Regions from separate parts of the Homo sapiens genome. Here regions 2, 3 and 4 are each linked to region 1. Evidence: promoter capture Hi-C in 16 types of primary human blood cells and fetal thymus (Javierre and others, 2016). All regions are on one chromosome and are shown on one strand. Each heading gives the region's core, a stretch centred on a gene start or on the middle of the fragment in contact. The rest is flanking DNA. Distances are from core to core; before and after follow the strand shown.

Region 1 (2,717 bases), core at 77-2,576:
CTGCACTGCAGCTTTTTCTCAGAGAAGGAAATATTCCTCCTACCCCTTCCCAATTTAGATTTGCAAGTTTTCTACATTTTCAAAAACAAAAAACAAAAAAACAAAAAACAAACAACAAGAAACGTAGACTAGTTGGGAGGAGCCCCTAGCGGAGTTAATTACAGCACTTCACAGATCGTAGTTAGCAATTGACAGTTTCACACCCAAAACAGTATCGTCATCGCCAACAAGAGCTTTTGTTTGCAAATGCAGCGCAGTTTTTCTAGCTTTGCCTGCAAGTTGGAGTGACTGGGTTTTATTCTGAAGGGAAATGGGGGCTGAGGAAGAGAAAGGAGAGAGATACGGGAAAGAGTCATTGACTAATGACTGGAACCCCGTAACTGAAAGGAAATTTCTTGTCCCCCCGCACCCCGCCCCACGCCCCAAACACACACACTTCTGACCATAAACACAAAAGGTTGGGGCTCTGCAATCTTATCTGCGCAATATGAGCCAGCAACCGCTCCATTAGTAGCAAACAATAGGGACTCCCCCAAGGAGGCCCCAAATGGACCCCCTAAACCAGAAATCCCCCTCCTTTCCTCCAAGAGTCGGGGGCTCCATAAATACCCTCTTGTTATTGACCCGCAAGGCCTACTGCAATCAAGCAGCGGCCGGTTTGCTTCTAAACCGAGCCCTCCAATACAGCATGTCCCTGCCGCCCCCTATAGGGCCGCCTCGTACCCTATAACCTCCACCATCATCCCCCTAAGTCCTTGCCGCCCCCTTCGGCCTCATATTCCCTCATCTTCGATAAAGCTACTCCGAGTACTTAGCCTGTTCCTCCTGCCGACCCTGCTGCGCACCACATTCCTATATTCGCCTCCTCTCAGGCGCTCCCACCCCACACAGCTGCCGACCGCCTTCCTCCCCAGGCCCGGCCAGGCCTTAGGCCTCCGCCCGAGAGTCCCCCAGAGCCGGCCCGGGGGGCTCCCCACAGCCCCCAAAGCACCGCTGACCTCGACCCCACCACCTCACCCCAAGCCTCGCGACTCGGGCCCGTGTCCTACCAACGAGGCCACTCCCGCTCGGCACCCTCGGTCCTTTATTGTTGACTCGAAGCTCCCAAAATGGCGGACGCTCCTTCCTCCTCGGAAACCTCCGCCCGCCCCCACCCAGCCCTCTCGCTACGGCCTCCTCTCGCCCCCGCCCCCGCCCCGCTCCGAGGGGCGCGCAGGCCAGCCGCCCGAGCCGCCGGCTCCCCCGGCTGTCCAGCCCTACCTCCTCCGCTGCCCGCTCTCGTGGCGCCGCCGAAGTCGCCGCCTGGCTGAGCTAACTCGGCTCCTCTGCCCCCTCCCTCGCTCGCCCGTTCGCCCGCCCGCCGCCTCCTCCCTCTTTCCCTGCCTCTCCGCATGGCGGCGACCGCGGCTCCTCCTCCACTCAAGATGGCGAAACCTCGGCCGCCGCGGCTATATTCGCCGCGGCGTCACTGCCTTCCTGGCCTGGTGGTGAGAGGAAGTCGGGCCGCGAAAGCTTCCTGAGGAGAAAATGGAGGGCCCTTCTCTCACACCGACGAGAAAAGTTCGAGGGGGAAATACGAGTTCCTTTCTGAAGGGACAGGACGGCTGCTTTTCCACAGCCGCGACGTGATTGAGAAATGGTGGCTGGCAAGGGTAGGCCTGCCTTCGCCCCTCCAAAGTAAAAATCGGGAGTTGAGACCAGAGGAACATCTCTTTATTACATGACTAAGGATATGTTTTGAAAACTGGCCCCCGGGCAGCTGCTCGGGGACAGGAAGCTGACCTGACTTCTCCAGCTGGCCGGGGAGGCTGATGCCGGGCCTAAGGGGCCGCGTCCGAGCCTCTCGGGGCGCGCCTCCATGCAGGAAGGCGCGGAACTAGCGACCCGGAGACGCCGGGCGCGCGTCTGAGTGTGGGGGCAGGAAGGGGGGCCGACCGGGCCCGGAGGCCGCACCAGGCAGGAGGGAGGACTCCAGAGAGTGCGCGGGGGGCGCTGCGCGGTGGGACGGGGCGAGCCTGTAGGGCGCGCCTGGCGGCGGGTAGGCTCCGGGCTTGAGGGTGCGCCTGGGGGCGCTGGTTGTGGGGGAAGGCACCGGGCTTGAGGGTGCACCTGGGCGGGGGAAGTCTTCGGGCATGAGGGCGCGCCTGCGGGTGGTATGGGGGGGTACACCGAGCTTGAGGGTGCGCCCGGGGGGCTCTCATGTGAAGGGTACCAGGCTTGAGGGCGCCCCTGCGGGGGGCGCAGAGGCACCGAGCTTGAGGGTGCGCCTCGGGGGTCTGCGGGGGGAAGGCACCGGACTTGAGCGTGCGCCGGGAGAGGACGGCGGGGGACCGGACTGTGAGGGCGTATCTTGGGGGACCTGTCTAGGAGGAACCGGGAGGTGAAGGCACAACTGGGGGTGAGGCGGGGGCAGGGGCCGGGCTGTGAGAGTGCGACTGAGGGGGGATTACTCCGGAGAGCACGGAGCTGGGGGCGTTGCGCAGGTGGAGTGGGGAGGCCTGGTGGAGAGGGTAGCAAACCGAGAGAGCGCACCGGGGTGGTGGGGGGAGAAGCTGGACTGTAAGGTGAAGAGTTAGTAGGGCGCAACCGTCTTCTCCTGCCCTCGAAGGGCAAGACTGAAGAAAGTAGGGGCGGAGGAGGCCGGGCCCTCCACTAAAGGGAGGGAAGCTAGTGAAGCGTCAGTTATAATAGAAATAGGAATTCAGTAAGGAAATGGA
Region 2 (2,717 bases), core at 1-2,500, 240 kb after region 1:
CGGAAGGAGGCATGCCTGTGAGCCAGGCCAGCACCCTGTGTCCCCAGGATTTCTGCCTTTACCTCCTCTATCATGTCTGCTTGCCTGTGAAACCAGCTTTGATTAAAGGTTCAACCTAATTACTTTTGTCTGCCTGAGCCCAGGGGAGGCAGGGGTGGGATGAGCAGAGATGCCCTCTCTAGCCCTGCTCCCTCAGTCACAGAACCTTCTCATTCATTCACGGAAGGTTTATTAACTTACTAGTTGACAGGCACTGCACTTGGCACTATTAGTTTCTACACCCACTCACCACCACCGCACCAAAACACAAAGTCAGACACATACCCCGGCTACCCCACTTCTAAGCCTTCTAGAGAGGGCCTCAATCCGTGGAACTCTCAATACTTAGCACATAATAGATTTAATTGTTTCCTACAGTTGCCCCTTGTAATTCTGTGCAAGGGGGACCTCCCCAGTTCAGGTCCCACGGTGTCACACAGAAAGCCCCGCTAAGGGCTGAGGTCCTGATGGGGCCCCACAGAGCTACCTCTGGGTCCCCATTACCCTGCGACGTCAGTCTGGGCTTCCTTCGGGCTAGCTGGGGGCTGCAGGGTCTGGTTTCCAACCTGTGGGACGTTGGCAGGGGCCGCAAGCAGAGGGACTGGGCAGCTCGTGGGCGGGAAGGTGCCCCGGCGGGCTTCGGGCTGCAGGGCACAACCGTCCCGCCCAGGGCCCCGGCAACATGCCCCGGCTTTTCCGCTCAATTGGGAAAGCAACTGGAGCAGAAGGCGTAGGCGCACGCGGAGCGGGCGACCGCACGTATTCTCCCGGAGGCCCCGCGCTTCTGGCACCCAGAGGCTCAGCCTGGTAGGGGAGGGCCAGGCGGCGGGCGGGAGAGGAGGAGAGGCGGCGGGCGGCGAAGAGGCGGCGGGCTCGTGGCACCTGCCCAGCCCCGTGGGTCCTCACGCTACCCAGGACACGCTACTGTGCGGCTGGGAACCACGGGGGCCGGGGGTGCAGGAGCTGGAGAGGTGCGGAGACCACAGGACTGGCGCGATAGAAAGGGGTCTCGTGCTGGTGGTCAGGGACAGCGCCTCGGTGGCCCCAAGACCCATGAATTGTCTCTGGAACTGCAGGAACAGCTCCGGGTCGTATCGGAAGTTGGGGTTCGCCAACAATGGCTCCCCAAGACCTGAGATCCCCGCCCTCAGGTGACTCCCCTCCCCCGCATACCGCCTCCTACCTGAACAGAGGCGGGAGCCCGAATAGGACGGGGCGGGGCTAGCGAAGGCTGCGCAAGCGCGGCCGGCGGGGGCGTGGTCTTCGCCTGCTGCTTCGCTTGCCGGCCAGTGGAGTTCCCCGCCCCACATGCCGGGGACGTCGACTTACTCCCTCCCGCTGGTCACGCTGCTCCTTGGACGAACGAGCATAGCGCCCCTTAGGGGCTGGGCACGGCATGTCCAATTCTTAAGTGGTTGCATTCAACAAACCAGTTTTTAGTGAGTGCCCTCCTCTACAAAACACACCGAACACTAAGGTGATAATCATTGTTCCCAAGTTGCTCACAGTCTGGGAAAGGTGTTGTAGGAACACACAGTATTTTCTTTTTTTCTTTTTTTTTTTTTTTGAAACAGTCTCGCTCAGTCGCCCAGGCTGGAGTGCAGTGGCGCGATTTCGGCTCACTGCAAGCTCCTCCTCCCGGGTTCACACCATTCTCCTGCCTCAGCCTCCCGAGTAGCTGGGACTACGGGCGCCCACCACCACGCCCGGGTAATTTTTTGTATTTTTAGTAGAGACGGGGTTTCACCGTGTTTGCCAGGATGGTCTCGATCTCCTGACCTCGTGATCCGCTCACCTCGGCCTCCCAAAGTGCTGGGATTACAGGCGTGAGCCACCGCGCCCAGCCCACAATTTGGAATTTTAACTTGTGGTTAGATTGTTGGGGACAGAGACGGGGCCTGGAGTAAATATCAAATTCTAGTCCTAGACCCACAGCATTCTAACTGTATGACCTTGGTTAATCTCTATGAGCTCCCGTTTCCTACCAGCCTGGTAGATCATTGTGAAGACTCAACAGATGATTTAGATAAGAGCTCAGAAATTCTATAAGAGTTCTCAACAACAATGGTTTTCACTGATCCCAGTTAAGAGTTGTGAGGAGTAACAGTAGTGATGCTATTTTACAACAATGATGACTGTGTTCTCAGAAACAGAGCAAATGTTAACCCTGCCCATAGCTTCAACAGAAGGTAACATAGCCTAACAAAGTCCCCAACAGTCCCAATCAGCCAGCACTTCCCGACCTCTCCCCAATAGAAACGATATTATAAAAGCCTCAGCTTGTAAGCGATCAGGGTCTCAGCCAGACTCCTGACTGGAACTCCTTGCAGGCTTATTCCTGTGAATAAACCTGTTTGGCCGTTGAGTTGCCTCCTGTCTCTCGCTCTCTTCCCTTATATCTTCCTAACAAGAGTGGCTGAAGGAATTGTAAGTGTTCCAAAATTGAGAGCAAAGATCTTTTACTCCAGAGAAGATGGTCAGGGAAGGGAGGAGGAGGAGATGAGATAAAATAGGATGACAGGCCGGACGCGATGGCTCATGCTTGTAATCCCAGCACATTGGGAGGCCAAGGCGGGCAGATCACTTGAAGTCAGGAGTTCGAGACCAGCCTGGCCAACATGGTGAAACCCTGTCTCTACTAAAAATACCAAAATTAGCCAGGCTTGGTGGCACACGCC
Region 3 (2,717 bases), core at 132-2,631, 210 kb before region 1:
CGCCACTGCACTACAGCTTGGGCAATAGAGCAAGACTCTGTTTCAAAACAAACAAATCCTGGAATTCATCAAAGCATGATCTAAATTCTGTTTCTTTCTTTCTTTCTTTCTTTTTTTTTTTTGAGGCAGAGTCTCACTTTGTAGCCCAGGCTGGAGTGAAGTGGTATGATCTTGGCTTACTGCAACTTCCGCCTCCCAGGTTCAAGCAATCCTCCCACCTCACTCTCCCCGTAGCTGGGACTACAGACGTGCACCACCAGACTTGGCTAATTTTTTGTATTTTTTGGTAGAGACAGGGTTTTCCCATGTTGACCAGGCTGGTCTCGAACTCCTGACCTCAGGTGATCTGCCTGCCCTGGCTCCCAAAGTGCTGGATTAAGGCATGAGCCACCGCTCCCGGCCTAAATGCTGTTTCTTCTATCAAGTCATCCCTGACTGTACCAGCTGGAAGTAATCTCTTCCTCTGAATTTCCACGCACTTTATCGGTTACTCTCTCATGTTACTTAACACATTCTGCCTCATATTACAGTTATTTGTGTTTGTGTCTTATCCCTATTAAGCTTCTTGTAGGCAGAATGCTAGCCTGTGTCATCTTAATTCTCAGAAAGCATGTTGTATGTATAGTAGATGTTCGATAAATAATTACTCAGTTAATTCTTATAATATCGCAAAAATGGAGATTACCAGTACCTATAATTAGTTTTTGAACATGCTCATCAGTAAAGTGGATGGGCCAGGTGCAGTGGCTCACTCCTGTAATCCCAACACTTTGGAGGCCAAGGCGCGCAGATGACTTGAGGCCAGGAGTTGGAGACCAGCCTGCCCAACATGGCAAAACCCTGTCTCTATTAAAAATAGAAAAATTAGCCAGGCTTGGTGGTGCTGGCCTGTGCCTGTAGTCCCAGTTACTCAGGAGGCTGAGGCATGAGAATTGCTTGAACTCAGGAGGCAGAGCTTGCAGTGAGCCAAGATGGCACCACTGCACTCCAGCCTGGACTACAGAGTGAGACACTCTCTCAAAAAATAAATAAATAAATAAATAAATAAATAAATAAATAAATAAATAAATAAAGTGGATAGTAACATACACCTTTTTGTTCCTTTTTCCCTCTCAAGTTGCTTTTGATGTTTTTACCTAAATTTTACTTGTATGGTATAGAGGTGTTTTTAACTCCAGTTGGAAACCTAAGAACTACCCTTGAGCCTGTAAACATTGTTTCTAACAGGTTTATTATTAGATATGGGGTTTCTATTAAATGCAGCATGTTTATATAGGTCTGAAGTTTTGGTCTGAGCTGTCCTTTCTTTAGGTGTTCATTTGATTTGTCTTATTTCTTCAAAACCTCATAAAATTCTAACATAGAGGACCATGACTTCCTAGAGCTATGACTCTCAACCTTTTAGGGATAGGAGGCTCTACAGGGATTACATTTACAATATGCTCCCATTTATTAATAATATTTCTCATCGCATGAGGGGATTTTCTATGGGCCATTTGAAATAACTTCTCTAGAGGATCGATGCATTCCCTGAAACTGTATGTAAAATTTTGGGGGGAGAGTCAATATTCATTATTTGAATATCAAAATATTGACAAAGGCAAAAATCCATTGCCTTGGCCGGATGCTGTGGCTCACACTTGTAATCCCAGCACTTTGGGAGGCTGAGGTGTGCGGATCACTTTAGCCCAGGAATTTGTAGCCTGGGCAACATGGCAAAACCCCGTCTCTCTTTTTTTTTTTTTTTTTTTTTTTTTTTTTTTTAATAAAAAAAGAAAAATCCATTACCTTGAAGTGGCATAAATTTTTTTCATGAGATGCATGTTTATTATTACTAATGGTGCTGTTTTACATCATGAATATATGTGCTACAAGTTGTATAGCACTTCTGAAGTACAGTTTCATTATAGTCATTTGGCCCTCATAATAGCTTGTAAGGTCATTAGATAATGCTGCATTTTATAGGAAAAGAAACGAGGTTAAGAGAGGTTGGGTAACTGAAGGTCAGGCAGATAGTAAATAGAAGAACAAAACTAGAAAATAGATTTTCTCACTCCCAGTCATTTAGTTTTTCTAATATCAGCTTGGTTCTTTGCAAATTTGGGACACTAGTTCTAAGTCTTTAGGAAAAGGAGAAACCAATGTGAAATGATCCCAAATATAAGGGAATTCCCTACTTTTCTGATGAAACTATTAAGAAGGAAAGCTTTTTGCCAATTGTATAAACTTTTTAAAATGCAGCCAAAATAGGCCGGGCGGTGGCTCATGCCTGTAATCTCAGCACTTTGGGAGGCCGAGGTGGGCAGATCACCCGAGGTCAGGCATTTGAGACCAGCCTGGCCAACCAACATGGTGAAACCCCATCTCTACTAGAAATACAAAAAAAAAAAAAAAAATTAGCCGGGCGTGGTGGCAGGCGCCTGTAATCCCAGCTACTCGGGAGGCTGAGACAGGAGAATCACTTGAACCTGGGAGGTGGAGGTTTCAGTGAGCGGAGATCTTGCCATTGCACTCCAGCCTGGGCAACAAGAGCAAAACTCCATCTTAAAAAAAAAAAAGGTAGCAAAAATAGTCAAATATGTTCTTAAAATAGTTAATAATTCACTTATATGTATATGTTTTAAATAAATAAAGTTTAATTTAGAAATAATTACTTTTTTCCATTTTCATATTAATAAAACAATTTTTTCTAGATTCTTTATGAACATCATGTCATC
Region 4 (2,717 bases), core at 65-2,564, 160 kb after region 1:
GTCTAGGTTTTCTTCTAGGGTTTTTATAGTTTTAGATCTAACATTTATGTCTTTAATCCATCTTGAATTAATTTTTGTATAAGGTGTAAGGAAGGGATCCAGTTTCCGCTTTCTACATATGGCTAGCCAGTTTTCCCAGCACCATTTATCAAATAGGGAATCCTTTCCCCATTTCTTGTTTTTGTCAGGTTTGTCAAAGATCAGATGGTTGTGAGACAGGTTTTATACCCTTTAATTTTTTTTTTTTTTTTTTTTGAGACGGAGTCTGGCTCTGTTGCCCAGGCTGGAGTGCAGTGGCGTGGTCTCGGCTCACTGCAACTACTGCCTCCCAGGTTCAAGCAATTCTCCTGCCTCAGCCTCCCGAGTAGCTGGGATTACAGGCACCTGCCACCATGCCCAGCTAATTTTTTGTATTTTTAGTAGAGACGGCATTTCACCATGTTGGCCAGGCTGATCTCGAACTCCTGACCTCGTGATCTGCCCACCTCAGCCTCCCAAAGTGCTGGGGTTACAGGCATGAGCCACCATGCCTGGCCTGGTTTTATACCCTTTTTACAGCAGAGGAAGCTGAAGCTCAGAGCAGTTAGTGAGGTATGTAACTTGGCAAAAGTCACAAAGCTGGAAGAAGATTTGGGGTAAGTGGTTGTATCAGAGGCTACTTTTTTTTTTTTTTTTTTTTTGAGACAGTTTCACTCTTGTTGCCCAGACTGGAGTGCAATGGCGCAATCTCCACCTCCCGGGTTCAAGCGATTCTCCTGCTTCAGCCTTCCAAGTAGCTGGGATTACAGGCATGTGCCACCACGCCTGGCTAATTTTGTATTTTTAGTAGAGACAGGGTTTCTCCATGTTGGTCAGGCTGGTCTCGAACTCCCGATCTCAGGTGATCCACCCTCCTCGGTCTCCCAGAGTGTTGGGGTTACAGGCGTGAGCCACCACGCAGGGCGGCTACATTTTTTAAAATGGAGCATTCAAGTCTCCTCCAACCCTGAATGACTGGTATTTTCTCATCCTCACAGCATTTTCCAGCCTCAGGTCTCAAGGATAGAGGTGCCACCACTTCCCAATGGACCAACATTTGGTGAGCACCGCATCTTACCTCCAAATCCAATCCTCCAGGACTCCCCCATCCCTGGCTGTTCCTAGGATTATGACAATGATCTCCAGCATTTCTTCCACACCTTTATTTTAAACCATTTTTACACCTGTCACATAGTTTGACCTCCTGAGTAAGGAAGGGGTCTTCTCTTTATATACTTTATTTCCAGCTCTGTCACCCAGGCTGGAGTGCAGTGGTGCAATCATGGCTCACCAAAGCCTCAGACTCCTGGGCTCAAGCCATCCTCCCGCCATAGCCTCCCAAGTAGCTGGGACTGGAGGCATGTGCCACCATGCCCAGCTCATTGTTTTTTTGTTGTTGTTGTTTGTTTGTTTTTTGAGATGGAGTTTCGCTCTTGCTGCCCGTGCTGGAGTGTAATGGCATGATCTCAGTTCACTGCAACCTCCATCTCCCGGGTTCAAGTGATTCTTTTTTGTATTTAGTAAAGAGGGGATTTCACCATGTTGGTCAGGCTGGTCTTGAACTCCTGACCTCAGGTGATCCACCCAACACAGCCTCCAAAAGTGCTAGGATTACAGGTGTGAGCCACCACCCTGGCCTGTTTTGTTTTTGTTTTTGAGACGGGGTCTCGCACTGTCACCCAGGCTGAAGTGCAATGGTGGGACCTCGGCTCACTGCAACCTCCGCCTCCCGGGTTCACACAATTCCCCTGCCTCAGCCTCCCAAGTAGCTGGGATTACAGGCGCACACCACCATACCTGCTAATTTTTTGTATTTTTAGTAGAGACGGGGTTTCGCTATGTTGGCCAGACTGGTCTCGAACTCCTGACTTTATAATCTGCCCGCCTCAGCCTCCCAAAGTGCTGGGATTACAGGCGTGAGCCACCGTGCCCAGGCTTTTTTTTTTTTTTTTTTAATAGAGAAGAGATGTCACTATATCACCCAGGCTGGTCTTGAACTCCTGGGCTCAAGCAATCTTCCCACCTTGGCTTCCCAAAGTGCTGGGATTACAGGCTGTGAGCCACAGCGCCTGGCCATAATTTTTTTTTCAGTTTTGTAGAGATGGAGCCTTGCTGCGTCACAAGGCTGGTCTCAAACTCCAGGTCCCAAGTGATCCTCCTACTTCAGCCTCCCAAAGTGCTGAGATGACAGGCATGTGTCACTGTGCCTGGTGAGTCTGCCATTTTTTATTTCATTTTATTGAGATGGAGTCTCACTCTGTTGCCTAGGCTGGAGTGCAGTGGCATGATTTCAGCTCACTGCAAGTTCCACCTCCTGGATTCAAGCGATTCTCCTGCCTCAGCCTCCCAAGTAGCTGGGATTACAGGCATGCATCACCACACCCGGCTGATTTTTGTATTTTTAGTAGAGACAGGGTTTCACCATGTTGGCCAGGCTGGTCTCAAACTCCTGACCTCAGGTAATCCACCCGCCTCGGCCTCCCAAACTGCTGGGATTACAGGCGTGAGCCACCGCACCTGGCCAAGTCTTCCATTTTAAATGTGAGAACATTGAAGTCCACCTAAAGTTACATGGTATCTCATCAACAAGAGGACAGTAGCTGCCATCAGAGGCTGACATGGCCATGCAGCCAAGTAGACATGTTTTTCTAATTGACTGGGAGGCAGAGAGTGGCACTCTGGAAGGAGAACCCTGGGCA

Evidence for each region. Contacts are between HindIII fragments. The CHiCAGO score rates a contact against its expected background, and 5 or more counts as called.
Region 2: a contact is called between the fragment with the promoter of SLC37A4 here and the fragment with the promoter of DDX6 in region 1, in 2 of 17 cell types (naive B cells and neutrophils). The highest score is 5.5, in naive B cells.
Region 3: a contact is called between a fragment that was not itself captured here and the fragment with the promoter of DDX6 in region 1, in 1 of 17 cell types (naive CD4 T cells). The highest score is 5.5, in naive CD4 T cells.
Region 4: a fragment that was not itself captured here is called in contact with the fragment with the promoter of DDX6 in region 1 in 12 of 17 cell types (non-activated CD4 T cells, naive B cells, naive CD4 T cells and 9 more); the score reaches 16.9 in non-activated CD4 T cells.

What each region holds. Positions count from the first base shown.
Region 1 is chr11:118,789,838-118,792,554 of GRCh38, forward strand. DDX6 (DEAD-box helicase 6) reads right to left here and starts at 1,327. Exons shown (of 14, transcript NM_004397.6): 1 at 1,261-1,327. RefSeq lists enhancers at 1-484, 1-122, 1,433-1,542, 2,159-2,714 and silencers at 323-402, 1,033-1,362, 1,813-2,102. The HindIII fragment of the contact is 4,863 bases long and covers 1-1,510 here.
Region 2 is chr11:119,029,627-119,032,343 of GRCh38, forward strand. It overlaps SLC37A4 (solute carrier family 37 member 4), which reads right to left and starts at 1,251. Exons shown (of 10, transcript NM_001467.6): 1 at 1,223-1,251. RefSeq lists a silencer at 706-865. The HindIII fragment of the contact is 18,338 bases long and covers 1-2,717 here.
Region 3 is chr11:118,577,143-118,579,859 of GRCh38, forward strand. The region is part of intron 1 of ARCN1 (archain 1 coat protein complex I subunit delta); the gene reads left to right. Among named protein-coding and RNA genes, the nearest start is that of ARCN1, 6.1 kb to the left of the region's middle. The HindIII fragment of the contact is 1,645 bases long and covers 560-2,204 here.
Region 4 is chr11:118,950,188-118,952,904 of GRCh38, forward strand. No RefSeq gene overlaps it. Among named protein-coding and RNA genes, the nearest start is that of UPK2, 4.8 kb to the right of the region's middle. The HindIII fragment of the contact is 6,551 bases long and covers 1-2,717 here.